Regions from separate parts of the Homo sapiens genome. Here region 2 is linked to region 1. Evidence: promoter capture Hi-C in 16 types of primary human blood cells and fetal thymus (Javierre and others, 2016). All regions are on one chromosome and are shown on one strand. The core of a region is centred on a gene start or on the middle of the fragment in contact, and the rest is flanking DNA. Distances in the headings are between cores, read along the strand shown.

Region 1 (6,640 bases), core at 1,261-3,760:
CCAACATGGTAAAACTCTGTCTCTAATAAAAATACCAAAATTAGCTAGGGGTGGTGGCATGCACCTGTAGTCCCAGCTACTCGGGAGGCTGAGGCAGGAGAATCGCTTGAACCCGGGAGGCAGAGGTTGCAGTGAGCTGAGATCGCACCACTGCACTCCAGCCTGGCCACAGAGACTCCGTCTCAAAAAAAAAAAAAAAAAAAAAAAGAAATAAAAAGAATTATTATTTCTTTCTCAATAGGAAAATGATATTTTCTGCCAGGTTTTCTATGAATTAGCATTAAATTATCCATAGTCACCTGACCTGAAGCTTGCACAGAGGAGGCGCTCACACAAACAGCACGGGTTATTATTTGCCTCCATGAGAGGGTCCCCTTGGCATGATCCCTGCTGGACAAGTTGCTGTTAGGAACATCTTTCTTCTATTTCTGTCCCTGGGGACACTGAACTTTCTATGGAGTCTCCTAAGCCTCCCAGGCCAGTTGGCTGATGGCCTAAGAAGCTTGTCCATCTGTCCTCTCCACTCTGAGTCTCAGGTGAAGGACAAGACTCTGTCCTTGCCCAGATGAGGCTCTGGGGTCTAAGCCCTGGCTGGTGAGCAGCTCCAGGAGCCACAGCCCTTGGATGGCTGGTAAATCTTTGCTCCTAGTTGGCCCTGCCCAGGAGGCTACAACCCAGTGCTGGCACAGGTTTCCCAGGGTTACCTGGAGTCAGGATCCTGGGACAGGGGTCTGGAGCAGGGGCTTCCAGGGATGAACTTCTCTGTGAGGATCCCAGGATCCCAGGGAGCCCCTCAGGTCAGGCCCTGACCCAGTTCTTTAGAGTTTTTCTCAGGGTCAGGTCCATGGGGAGGGCACGGGGTGCCTGGCTGAGTCTGATCTCCTTCTGCTGAGTCCCCCCATCAGACTGTCATTCCTCTGCCGTGAGTGTCTGCAGGGTCTGGATGCAGGAAAGGAATTCTGGTCTGTGGAAGTCTGTCTCCCCTGAGTGTGTCCTGCACTAAATGTCCAAACCCTAAAGTGGGATGTAATGCAGAGAGGGACATGGGCACAGCCCAGGCCTAACAATCCTGTGTGTGGGAAGTAGAACTGACCCCCAACACCCAGAGGTCATGGGGAATCACTCACGATGTACGCTGAACTGGCCAGTTACTTCTTCACTCATAAGATTTAGCTTTATGACTTGTAGGGTGTAGGATCCTGTGTCATTTCTGGTGACGTTCCGCATCAGCAGGGATGCATTGGGGTATATTGTCTCTCGATTGCTGTATGCAGGCCCTGGGGTAATCTGTTGATTTGATATTACATATCCTATAATTCGACGGTTGGCATCCACTGTTTCCCCTTTGTACCAGTTGTAGCCACGAGGGTCCTGGGGCAGATTGTGGACAAGTAGAAGAACCTCCTTCCCCTCTGCAGCATTGGATGGCACAGCTTCAATAGTGAGCTGAGCAGTGGTGGGCGGGTTCCAGAAGGTGAAAAGTGAGGCTAGGAGGGGGAGAGAGCATCAAGCAATATTGCAACATATGTATTGGAGTAGAAAAATGGGGACATCAGCTTTGGAGTTTGTGTGTTTTTATGTGTGTGTATGTGTGTGTGTCCTACTGAGTCAATGTCAGCAGCACAGCCCCCATTTCTTCAACACCTCTGACCTTGGCATTTCCCTGGTGGAATCCTCTTCTTCAGGGTTCTGCACGGCTCCCTCCACACTGCCCTCAGATCCTGCTCACATCAGGGCATCCTTGGGAGACCCTTTCTCTGACACCTCCTCTAGAGACACTGGGTCTTCCCTTTCTGACCTTTCCCTGCTGTGTTCCTTCCAGGGCTCCTGTCAGCGCCTGACCTCACATTCTAGATCTCTTTGTCTGTCTTCCTCCCCAGGAGAGTGTGAGCTCTGTGAGGGCAGGGACTTGTGTGGTGTTGGCTGCACCCCAGTGCCTGGGACAGGCTTCAGACTCCTGTGGATGAGTTCCTGAGCATTCCCTGGGCCCTCTGCTTCCTGAGGCTTATTTGCCAATGTCTGACATTGTTGGCTGAGGACAATGTTTCATACCCTGGTTATGCTTTATTTGAAGTGTCATCTGGTATGGTTATTATTATCATTTTTCAAAATGTAGTGGCCAGTGATGATTAACCAGGAATATGGAACACTTGAGATGTTCCTGCCTCTTACCAATTCCAGTTCAATGTGATTTTCCTGTTGTGACCCCTTCCCCTCTCTTGTGTCCTCTCCTCTATTAAGGCTCCAACAGAAGTCCTCTGTCCCCTCTCAGAGCCCCGTCCTCCCCAGGAGACCCCAGCCAGTCACTGTGTTTCCTCCTCCTGTCCTTTCCCAGGAAGTCCTCTCCTCACCTGTGAGCAGGAGCCCCTGCCAGGGGATGCGCCATCTGCAGGAAGGGGCTGAGATGGGCCCCATGGTCTCTGCTGCCTGCGTGTTCTCCTCTGTGGAGATGAGCCTGGGATCCAGAAACTTTCTGAGCACGGCTGTCAGCTGTGCTGTCCTTCCTCCTTTTGTGCTGAGCCTCTTCCCGGGGCAGGAGCACTTCTCAGGCTCATGGGCGGGGTCTGTGCCCAGGACACCTCTCTGTCCCCTCCCCTCTCAGTCCTGCCTCCCTGTCCCTCCTTTCCCTTTATTTTCTGTCTGTGTTTCAGGCCCCTGGGAATTGCTGAGGTCTCTGACTCCTTCAGCAGTGATTCTCTCACCCAACCTCTGCACACACTATGCAGACACACACACACAGAGACACACACATACACAAAGAGACACACACAGTCACACATACACCCTGGAGACTGGGTGAGCACAGCCCTGTGCCCTCAGCATCCTGCAGCCTATGTCTCCAGGTCGGGGTGCACAGTCGCTCCCCCTGCCCTCTCCCATCCCCATCTGGCTCTTCCCTTCAGATCAGGAGGTCAGCGCTCCGCAAGGACCCTGTCACAGGGACACCACCACTGAGCTTTGGGGAGGTGTGTGCTCACTGGTGAGAGGGATCCTCCCCCTCTCTCATTGTGTCAAGCTTGGTTGCAGCTTCCAAGGATGGACATTCAATGCCCTGGATATCCCAGAGGGGACTGTCCTTACTGGTGGTGTGCAGGGCAAATAATCTCTTATGCCTCCTGAGAGAGAGGGCTGTTCTGGTTGGTCAGTGGGGGCTGTGGGCCTAGTGGTCATCAGGGACAGGTATCAGCCATTCTCTTGCTCTTTGGGTTCTGGCAGCTGAGCTGGGGCTCGGGCCTTCCATGTTCTCTCTGACCATCTTGGGTGTCCTCTGTTTTCGCCCGGCTGACTGTCCTGTGGTCACCCCACCTTCCCTATGGTTGGTGCAGCAGGAAGTGGGGAGTTGCCCAGGGGCCCCACAAGACAGTGCTCTCTGAGATCCAGGAGAGGGAGCCTGGGACAGAGCAGGGGCTCAGAGCTGGAGAGACTCATCCCAACTTACTCTGCAGCCAGGATGGGCTCAGCCCTCCCCATGCTGATATCCCCTGGGGTCTGTCCTAAGGGTTTGGACCTGGTCAGGCCCCTCTGTGTAGAGAAAGGATGGGCAGCGGCCGGGGAGCCCGTCTGGGGGGACGTTGCTCACACCTGAGAGGGCAGGTAGGGGTGGGCCATGTTCTGGGAACAAAGGGAGCTCATTCCTTGCCCCCCAGCTTGTGTACATGAGAGAGCGCTGTCCTCCCTCCTGGCTTCACGAAGGACAGCAGGGGGCAGGTGGCTACATCCCAGACAGTGCCTGGGCGTGACCATCACATACTCTCCGAGCCTCCTGGGGTGCAGAGGGAAGGTCATAGGGTGCCTGGCTGATTCCCCAGAGGCACTGTGGGCCCTCAGGCAGCTGTGGTTCTGTCAGCGCTGGGCTCAGCCTGCCATGCCGTAGAGAACAGGACACACGGAGCAGGGGCGGGTATTTAGGGAGCAGTCACAGAAAGAGTTGATGAGGATGGAGGGAGGTCACGAGGGGAAAGCGCCCAGTGTGGCATCCCGTGCACCAGCGCTGCCCTGGGAGATGCCTTAACTAGGCCCAGGGAAGGATTGGGTGTGTGGGGCAGGAGCTGCCTGCAGAGGGGGCGGCCTCATGTTGCCGGCTGCCTGGCTGCAGGGAGGAGCTGACAGAGTCCGTATGGGGAGCTTGGAGGGTAAGGAGGACGTGGGCCGAGGTGCCCTGGTGAGGGTGGACCCTGCTGGGCTGTGGGTTCCGCTGAGGGAGGTCAGCAGCCCCTGGGAAGGCTCCAGGCTGGAGGGACTCTGTCGCCCTCTGGTGGACTGGAAGGGAAGTGTGGGTGGCCGCAGTCCCAGGTCCGGCTGCGTGTTTTATTCCACATGGATCTGCACATTTCACACGAGGTCACCCACATGTTATGTCGAGCTCCATCACATTCCACATCCGTGTTTTTCTCTGTGGCTGATTCTCTGGTGTGATCTCTGAGCCTGTGTTAGTCCTCCTCACAATGGTCACAGCTGTGTGTGGAGATCTAATGGGGTGTGTGTGGCTCATGTGCTCACACAGAGTGTCCTGGGGTCAGGCTTTATGACCTACCCTGCCCCAACTCCACAACAAGATCTGAATAATGCGCCAAGTAAGATAAAGTCAGAATCCATGGGGGAGGGTGAGAGTCCTGGCAGTGCTGAGGTCTGTGTCTCCAGCTTAACTCTCAGTCTCTTTGCAAATACATTTATGTTGTGCATCTGCAGTTGGCTGGGCAGTTTCATGTCTCTGAATCCTTGAATCTCTCTGTGGATAAGGTCATGTAGGGACTGCATGTAAGTGTATGAGGGCTATCTGATTAGGGTGGGTATGTTTTACGTAGTAGGTTTTCTTCACCAAAGACTTTTCAAAAAATTGTGGTAGAGTGTATATATGTACATTCATATATCACCTCCACTTCCTGAGTTCAAGCGATTCTCCTGCCTCAGCCTCCCAAGTAGCTGGGACTACAAGCGTGCACCACCATGCCGGGCTAATTTTTGTATTTTTAGTAGAGGTGGGGTTTCACCATGCTGGCCAGGCTGGTCTCAAACTCCTGAACTTGTGATCTACCTGCCTCAGCCTCCCAAAGTGCTGGGATTACAGGCATGAGCCACTGCACCCGGCCTGTATATCTTCTTTGAAGAAATGTCTATTTGAGTTTTTGCCCATTTATAAACGGGGTGGTTTGTCTTTTTGTTATTGAGTTGTAGCAGTTCTTTATATATTCTGGACAGGAAGCTCTTCTATATGTAATTTGCAAATTTTTTCTCCCATTCTGTGCCTGGTCTTTTCACTTTCTTCATAATGTCCTTTGATGCACAAAAGGCTTGCATCTTCATAAGGCTTAATTTATCTCTTTTTCCTTGTTGTTGCTCATGCTTTTGTGTCATATCTAACAATCCATTACCACATTCGAAGTCATCAAGATCTACCCCTCTTTTTCTTTTTTTAAAAAATATATATTTTATTTACATAGGTTTTTTGGGGAACCGATTGGTATTTGGTTACATGAGTAAGTTCTTTAGTGGTGATTTTTGAGATTTTGGTGCACCCATCACCCAAGCAGTATACACTGAACCCAATTTGTAGTATTTTTTCCCTCACTCCCTTCCCACCCTTTTTACCTGAGTCCCCAAAATCCATTTTGTAATTCTTATGCCTTTACATCCTCATCACTTAGCTCCCACTTATGAATGAGAACATACGATGTTTGGTTTTCCATTCCTGAGTCACTTCACTTAGAATAATAGTCTTCAATCCCATCCAGGTTGCTGAGGATGCCATTAATTCATTCCTTTTTATGGCTGAGTAGTATTCCATCATACACACACACACACACACACACACACACACACACACACACACATATATATACATACCAAGTTTCTTTATCCACTCATTGATTGATGGACATTTTTGTTGGTTCCACATTTTTGCAATTGCAAATTGTGCTGCTATAAACATGCATGTGCAAGTATCTTTTTGTATAATGACTTCTTTTCTTCTGGGTAGATACCAAAAGTGGGATTGCTGGATCAAATGGTAGTTCTACTTTTAGTTCTTTAAGGAATCTCCACACTGGTTTCCATAATGGTTGCACTAGTTTACATTCCCACCAGCAGTGTAGAAGTGTTCCCTTTTCACAACATTCATACCAACATCTATTATTTTTTATTATGGCCATCGTTGCAGGAGAAAGGTGGTATTGCATTGTGGTTTTGATTTGCATTCCCTGATTATTAGTGATGTTGAGTATTTTTATATGTTTATTGGCCATTTATATATCTTTCTTCAAGAATTGTCTATGCATGTCCTTTGCCCACTTTTTGATGGGATTGTTTGTTTGTTTTTTCCTTGCTAATTTGATTGAGTTCATTATAGATTCTAGATATTAGTCCTTTGTCAGATGTATAGATTGTGAAGATTTTCTCCCACTCTGTGGGGTGTCTGTTTACTCTGCTGACTGTTCCTTTTGTCGTGCAAATGCTCTTTAGTTTAATTAAGTCCCAGCTATTTATCTTTGTTTTTATTGCATTTGCTTTTGGGTTGTCATGAACTCTTTCCTAAGCCAATGTCTAGAAGGGTTTTTCTGATGTTATCTTCTATAATTTTTATAGTTTCAGGTCTTAGATTTAAGTCCTTATCAATCTTGAGTTGATTTTTGTATAAGGTGAG
Region 2 (6,640 bases), core at 1,744-4,243, 720 kb after region 1:
CTCTGTGTCTATTATCTCTAGGTGTGCCATGTGCTCCTCAGAGTCTGTAAATAGCAAAAAAAAAATTTGTACTTTCACATTGTGGTTGTATCACTATAGCCTCACCTGCCATCTGGTGCCTGACATTGAGGCTGCCCCATGGGACCCATGCTGGTTGAGCCCCTGCTGGAGCTCTTTTCTTGGGGTCTCTGGTGCTGCTGGGGACAGGCACTGTCAGGTGATTTGATGGAGAAATGGAAGAGTTTTATTCAAAACAGTGTGTCAGATGATGTTTTCATGGGCTTCAGCTGCTGTAACAAACACCTTAGTCTGGGTGACTTAAAATTTAGAAATCTATTTCTCATAGTTCTGGAGCCTGGGAAGTCCAAGTTCAAGGTTCCAGCTGATTCAGTCCTGGTGAGGGCTTCCTTGCAGATTCCTGCTCTCTTGCTGTATCTGCACATGGTGCAGGCTTGAAGGTGGGTGGAGAGACAGAAAGAGGTAGAGACCCTTCTCCCATGTTTTCTTCTATTTATAAGGTCATTAACTCTATCATGAAGCCTCCACTTTTATGACTTAGTCTTACTGTAATTATCTCCCAAAAATGCCACCTCCAAATTTCATCACATTAAGGATGAGGGCTTTAACAATTTTGAGGGGGCACATTCTGTCTGGAGCAGGAAAGGTGGGAGCTCCTTCCCCTCCTGTTCATGAGGCCTGACCTTCCCTGGTGAGATAACTTCACATTCAGTCTCATTCTAGGTTGCAGCTCCACAGAGCCTGGGTTCTCCTCTGCTCTTCTGCCCATTCCTGGGTTTTCCTTCTTGCACCACCTTCTCCCTGTGGCCCCACCTGCTCCTGTTCCAGGCAGCTGTCCTTGCGTTGCTGCTCTCTCACCATCTCTGGCCTCACTGGCCTCTGCCTTTTTTTTTCTCAGCCCTGAGGCCAGCTCCATGGGAGGGAGGAAGGGTGAAGCTGGGATGGGTTCTGACCAGGTTGCTGCCCGCTATGGAAGCTTGACAATGAGGGACGCTGTTGTGTCACCATGGAGGAGTCCTTAGGAAAAGGCTATTTCTCAGGGGTGCCTGGATCAAAAGGGGGGTGGCACTTTTAATTTAGCTGGATCTGTGAACTACAGGGACTCTGCTCCATGTCAGCAACCAGCACCTCCAACTTTTGGTTTCTCTCTGTAGCTGATTGTCTTGCCTGTGATAAGATCCTCCTCACAATGACTGATGGTCACAGCCGTGTGTGGAAACTTAATGGAGGGTCTTGAATGCTCACACAGAGTGTCCAGGGAACATGCTTCCTGATGTTGAGAACGGGTGCTCAGTGTCATAAAGATAAACACTGAGACAAAGGATCTCTCAGAAAGGCTAGTTTACTTTCTGCAGAAAGGGTGTCACTCGCTAGCAGTCTTGCCATGACAGCACACACAAACAAAGGAGACAGGGTCATTTATAACCTGACCCGTCCACCCTACTGCTATGTCCAGCTTCTATTGGCTGGAACGGACCTCCCAATTTGTACTTGACTTGATTGGCTAGCAACTTAGAACTTTCCCAAAGAGGCAAAGGCAGAGAATAAAGGAAGAGAGGAATTAACTTGTGGAATGCTGAGAGAGGCAAAAACATTTTCAAGTAGGGAAAGGAATAAGCCTGACCTAATGCTTGCTTGGACTGGTTCAGGCATATCAGGGCAAATATCTAAGCTAAAATGTGGGGTCTAAGAACACAGAGTATATTGATTTCTTTATTATGGCTGGCAGAATTTAAGAATATTAGCACAGGTCTTTGAGAAAATTGTGCTTTTAAGAGAGGTTACTATTTATTTTCAATTAGACTGGGAGGAAAATCCCTTTGAAGAGGACCTCTATTTATTTCATTCTCTACAATTCTCCCCTCTTTTATTTTATAATTACTCTTCAAACTTGTTTAATATGTTTTGACTTAATTGCTCTGTTTGTCCTTTTAAGAGAAGTAATCTTTTTGAATATGGTGGAGAGTTAGGAAACAATTTTGTGAGAGTAGCAGGGACAAGTTTTTGTATAAAGCTTTGAAAACATTTTTATTTATAGTTACCCACCAGAACAACAAAGATTTAAATCTCACAGCTATTTGATTTCGTGCTTTAAATTTATCTGGCACTTCTTGCGGGACCCCAATAGTGTTTATGTAAACCTGAGGATTAAAGGATTTATAAAGAGTTTCTTTGGGCCTGCAGTGTTTTGTTTTTACTTTTTTTTTTTTTAAGGCTGATAAAATGCCAGGGTGAAAGGGATAGCCAATTGGATTAGAGCATAAATACTCCTCCAATTATCTGGCAGAGTGTCCAGTAAAGGTCCTTCACAGTACTAGCATACATTTGCTCAGGGGTGGCTAAGCACAGACTGATGGGCAAGCTCCTGGAAAGGCTTGAGCTTCTTGCATCCTTTTATGCTTCCAAGGAACACCAAATTCTCCACTTGCCATGGGAGGCACGAACTAAACTTGGCATTTAGAGGTGGAAGCTGGATTGCCCTTGGGGGCTGACCCACAGGGTGTCAAGCTTTAGGAAACAGCAGAGAGAGAGCTCAGCATGATGGATTATCCCAAGCAGTGGGATTTTGGTAGGATTTAGCCTGTGGTAGAATCCTCCTCACAATGACTGATGGTCACAGCTGTGTGTGACCATATGGTCCATACCTGGTTGATGAGGAGACCATCCGAGTGGAAAGGGGACAATCTGGGCGTCTGTGCACAAGCATAACAATCACTGTTATTTAAAGTGCAGATGGAATATTTAATCCATTCCAGCCGGGCATTTGCATTTTGATACATTGTCTTAATGGCTAAGGTTTGTTTTAGATCTTTCACCTTTGCAATAGACACCGTAGTTTTATTATAGGTGTAGGAGTAAGTGGGATGGGATCTAAAACTGAGGCTACTGAAGAAGGGGAAGATGGGGAATAATGCATATCTAAAAAATGCATAGGGGGTGTTTCCCATTTAGGTCGATCCCCATACCATAGAAGCAACTAAGAGTAGGTTTAGAGTCAGTTAAGGTGGAGGTGGTGATAGAGAGAAGGACAGTGTTACACTGATAAGGCTGGCAATTAGAAGGCGTAGTCCCTTTAGTGAGGGGTTTTAGATCTGCACAAACCTCTTCCGTGGAAGTCCAACCTTGCACCTGAGTAGTCCATAGGATGTAGTCCCAGCTACTACAAGGTTGCCAGGCTATAGGAGCAGAAAATTGGTGTCTCGGCTGCAGGTATTCACAACCATGAGTGCTAGGAGGAACTATGTCAACTAGAGGGCCGGAGCATAAATATTTGTGTGAAAAAGCTAGCTGTCATTGATCCTTCACATCTTTACAAGGTATGACAGAGCATGCATTAAAGGCAATGGTCTGAGATGAGTCAGACTTAGTTATGTTAATAACAAAAGGAGCTAGTAACAGAATAAGGAAAGGAAAGGAAGCAATATAGAAGGGATATGGAAATTAAGCTTTTGGTTTTTTTTAACTTTAACTTGTTAAGGCTTGATCCCGGTACACTAACCTATGATTCTGATGAGGAAGATGATTTCTTGACTTAAGTATGGTGGGTCCATCTTCTCTTGGCTGTGCGGATGGCAGTCTTGGTGGTCAACTGTACAGGATAAGGGCCTTCCCAGGCGGGCACAAGTTTCCCTTCTTTTTACCCTCTGATGAGAACATGGTCCCTGGGTTAGTGCTGGTGAGCTAGAAATTCTAGCGGTGGTGTCTGTGCTAAGAGATCTTTTATCTTAAGAGAAGAAAAGGTAGCGGAGAGACCAAGTATATAATTTCTGAGGAACTGATCCTTAGTTTCAAACATAGGAACATTAGCTGAGGAATGTAAATAAGGCAATCCATATAACATTTTATATGGAGACAGGCCTGTATCCTTTTGGGGAGCTGTCCTGATCCTTAATAAGGCAATGGGAAGACATTTGGTCCATGGTAAATGAGTTTCTAGAATTAATTTAGTCAGATGATTCTTAAGGGTTTGATTTATTCTTTCTACTTGTCCGGAGGATAAGGGATGCCAGGGAATATGATATTCCCATTTTATGTCTAGCACTTGGGCCAGCTTTTTAATAATATGTGCAGCAAAATGGGTTTCATTGTTTGAGTCAATATTTTCTATTATTCCAAACTTGGGTATAATATGCTCAATTAATGGTTTTACCACATTATTGGCAGTTGCCTCGAAAAGGGGATGGCTTCTACCCAGTGGTTAAGGTAATTAATTATTACTAGCAGGTGTTTTAGCCGACTAATGGGTGGCATTTTAGTATAATCGACTTGGACGTTTTGGAATGGTCTTAACTCCGGAGTTCTTCCTCCGAAAGGCAATTTCCTTTCAGCTTGTTTGTCAGCTTTCTTACAGATGAGACAGCCATTTGTGATCTGCCTGTCTAGAATATAAATGCCAATACACCTAAAGACTCTGAGAATCATGTCACATAGGGCCTGGGGACCCCAGTGAGTCCCTTGATGTAAATGGGATAATACTTCCCTCATAAAGGGTTTAGATAGCATCTCTCTTTGATCTGGAAGTATGCAGCTTTCTTATGAATTTTTTTTTTTTTTTGCTTTGGGATTTCAACTAATTTTTCTTTCCCAGCCAGGGAGAAGATAGGCACAACAGTAGGAGAAGGAAGGTGGGGAGTTAAATGAAAAATGGGCATATCTAAGACTGCAGCCTTTTTGGCCATCTGATCTGCAAGGTTATTCCTTCGGCTCTTAAGGGAAAAATCATGTTGATGTCCAGGAATGTGCATGATGGCTATCTACTTTAGTAGCTGGAGATTATCTAAGACATGACTAATGACTTATGAGCAAGTTCTTGGCCCCTACTATTTATAAGACCTTGTTCAGCCTAAATCTTCCCAAATGTGTGTGCTACCCTAAAGGCATACTTAGAATCTGTGTAGATAGTTTCTATCTGATCCTTTAAATATTTTAAGGCCTGACTGAAGGCAAATAATTTACAAGCTTGAGCAGAATAGCTATTGGGTAACCATCCTGATTTAATTTCTTCGAGTGTCTCTCTATCTACTACTGCATATCCACTGTGTTATTCCCCATTAAACACCCAGGGGGACTTGTCTATGAATAGGTGTTGCCCCGATCTATAGAGGCCTCAGCTAAATCTGGCTGGACTTTTGTATGGTAGTCAATTAAGTTGAGGCACAAGTGTTCTGTCTGTAGCAACGGATTTCCCGTCAAGAACCCTGCAGGGTTGAGTGAGTTATCTGTTGTTATGGTTAAGTCATTTAAATCATCCTTTTTTTTTTAACAGAATAGCCTTATATTTTAAAATTCTGGAATCAGTGGGCCAGCTTCCTGCTTTTTGGCTCAAAATGGTCTTGACTTGATGAGATGTGCTCACGGTCAAATACCCCCCAAAGGTTATTTTTCTACTTTTTTCTACTAATATGGCTGTGGTTGCAATAGATTGAATATACTGGGGCCACCCACTGGCAACAGGATTTAAAATCTTAGACAGAAAAGCTACTGGTTGTCACCGGCCTCCGTGTTCTTGAGTGAGCACCCCTAAGGCTACTCCATTGCTTACATTAACAAAAAGGTGGAAGGGCTTCTTAAGAGAAGGCAGAGCTAAAACTGGAGCAGACATTAGTCTATGCTTCAGTTTATTAATTTGATCTACTTCTTTAGAGGACCACATAAGGGGGTCAGGCCCCTTATTAGCTAACTTTTCATATAATAATTTACTTCTTAATGCATAGGAGTCGATCCATAATCGGCAGTATCTAATTAATCCTACAAACTTTTTAAGTTCTTGTTTGATCCAGGGCAGTGGCAGGGACAGAATTCCTTCTACTCGCTCAGGACCAATTCTTCTTTTGCTGGTGCTAAATGGCCCATGTATTTGACTTCTGGTTCTACATATTGGAGCTTCTCTTTTGAGACTCGTAGCCCTTCAGTGTATAAATGATTTAGAAAATAGATGGTGTACTTATTTACTTTCTCTATATCCTCTCCAGGTATAAGAATATCATCCATGTGTTAAGTAAACATAGCTGTTTTGGGATAGCAGCCCTCTCTATGACTTTCTCTAAGGCATGACTAAAAGGGTTTGGTGAATCTGCAAACCCTTGATACAGAACTGTCCATCTGTATTGTTGCTTCTGCCCACTGTGGGGGTCCTCCCACTCAAAGGCAAACAGGTCAGGCTGTTTTCCACTAAAAGACATGCCCAGAAGTCATCCTCTAAATTTAAGACAGTGAACTACTGATTACTATATGGAATTTTACTTAGAATAGTGTAGGGATGGGCCAGGCGCAATGGCTCATGCCTGTAATCCCAGCACTTTGGGAGGCCGAGGCGGGCAGATCATGAGGTCAAGAGATTGAGAACATCCTGGCCACTTGGTGAAACCCCGTCTCTACTAAAAATACAAAAATTAGCTGGGCATGGTGGTGGGTGCCTGTAATCCCAGCTATTCAGGAGGCTGAGGCAGGAGAATCACTGGAACCTGGGAGGCGGAGGTTGCAGTGAGCCAAGATTGCACCACTACACTCCAGCCTGGTGACACAGTGAGACTCTGTCTCAAAATAAGAAAAGAATAGTGTAGGGATTTGGCATGATTGGGTGAGGAGTCTGCACTATTTCATTAACAGCTTTAAGATCTTG

What was found. The method cuts DNA at HindIII sites, captures the fragments that hold promoters and counts their contacts. A CHiCAGO score of 5 or more calls a contact.
Region 2: a contact is called between a fragment that was not itself captured here and the fragment with the promoter of CEACAM8 in region 1, in 1 of 17 cell types (activated CD4 T cells). The highest score is 5.3, in activated CD4 T cells.

Annotation. Positions count from the first base shown.
Region 1 is chr19:42,592,414-42,599,053 of GRCh38, forward strand. It overlaps CEACAM8 (CEA cell adhesion molecule 8), which reads right to left and starts at 2,511. Exons shown (of 6, transcript NM_001816.4): 1 at 2,352-2,511; 2 at 1,128-1,487. The coding sequence starts at 2,415. The region is part of intron 2 of LIPE-AS1 (LIPE antisense RNA 1); the gene reads left to right. RefSeq lists an enhancer at 3,844-4,344. The HindIII fragment of the contact is 2,514 bases long and covers 501-3,014 here.
Region 2 is chr19:43,307,073-43,313,712 of GRCh38, forward strand. No RefSeq gene overlaps it. Among named protein-coding and RNA genes, the nearest start is that of LINC03078, 21 kb to the right of the region's middle. The HindIII fragment of the contact is 938 bases long and covers 2,525-3,462 here.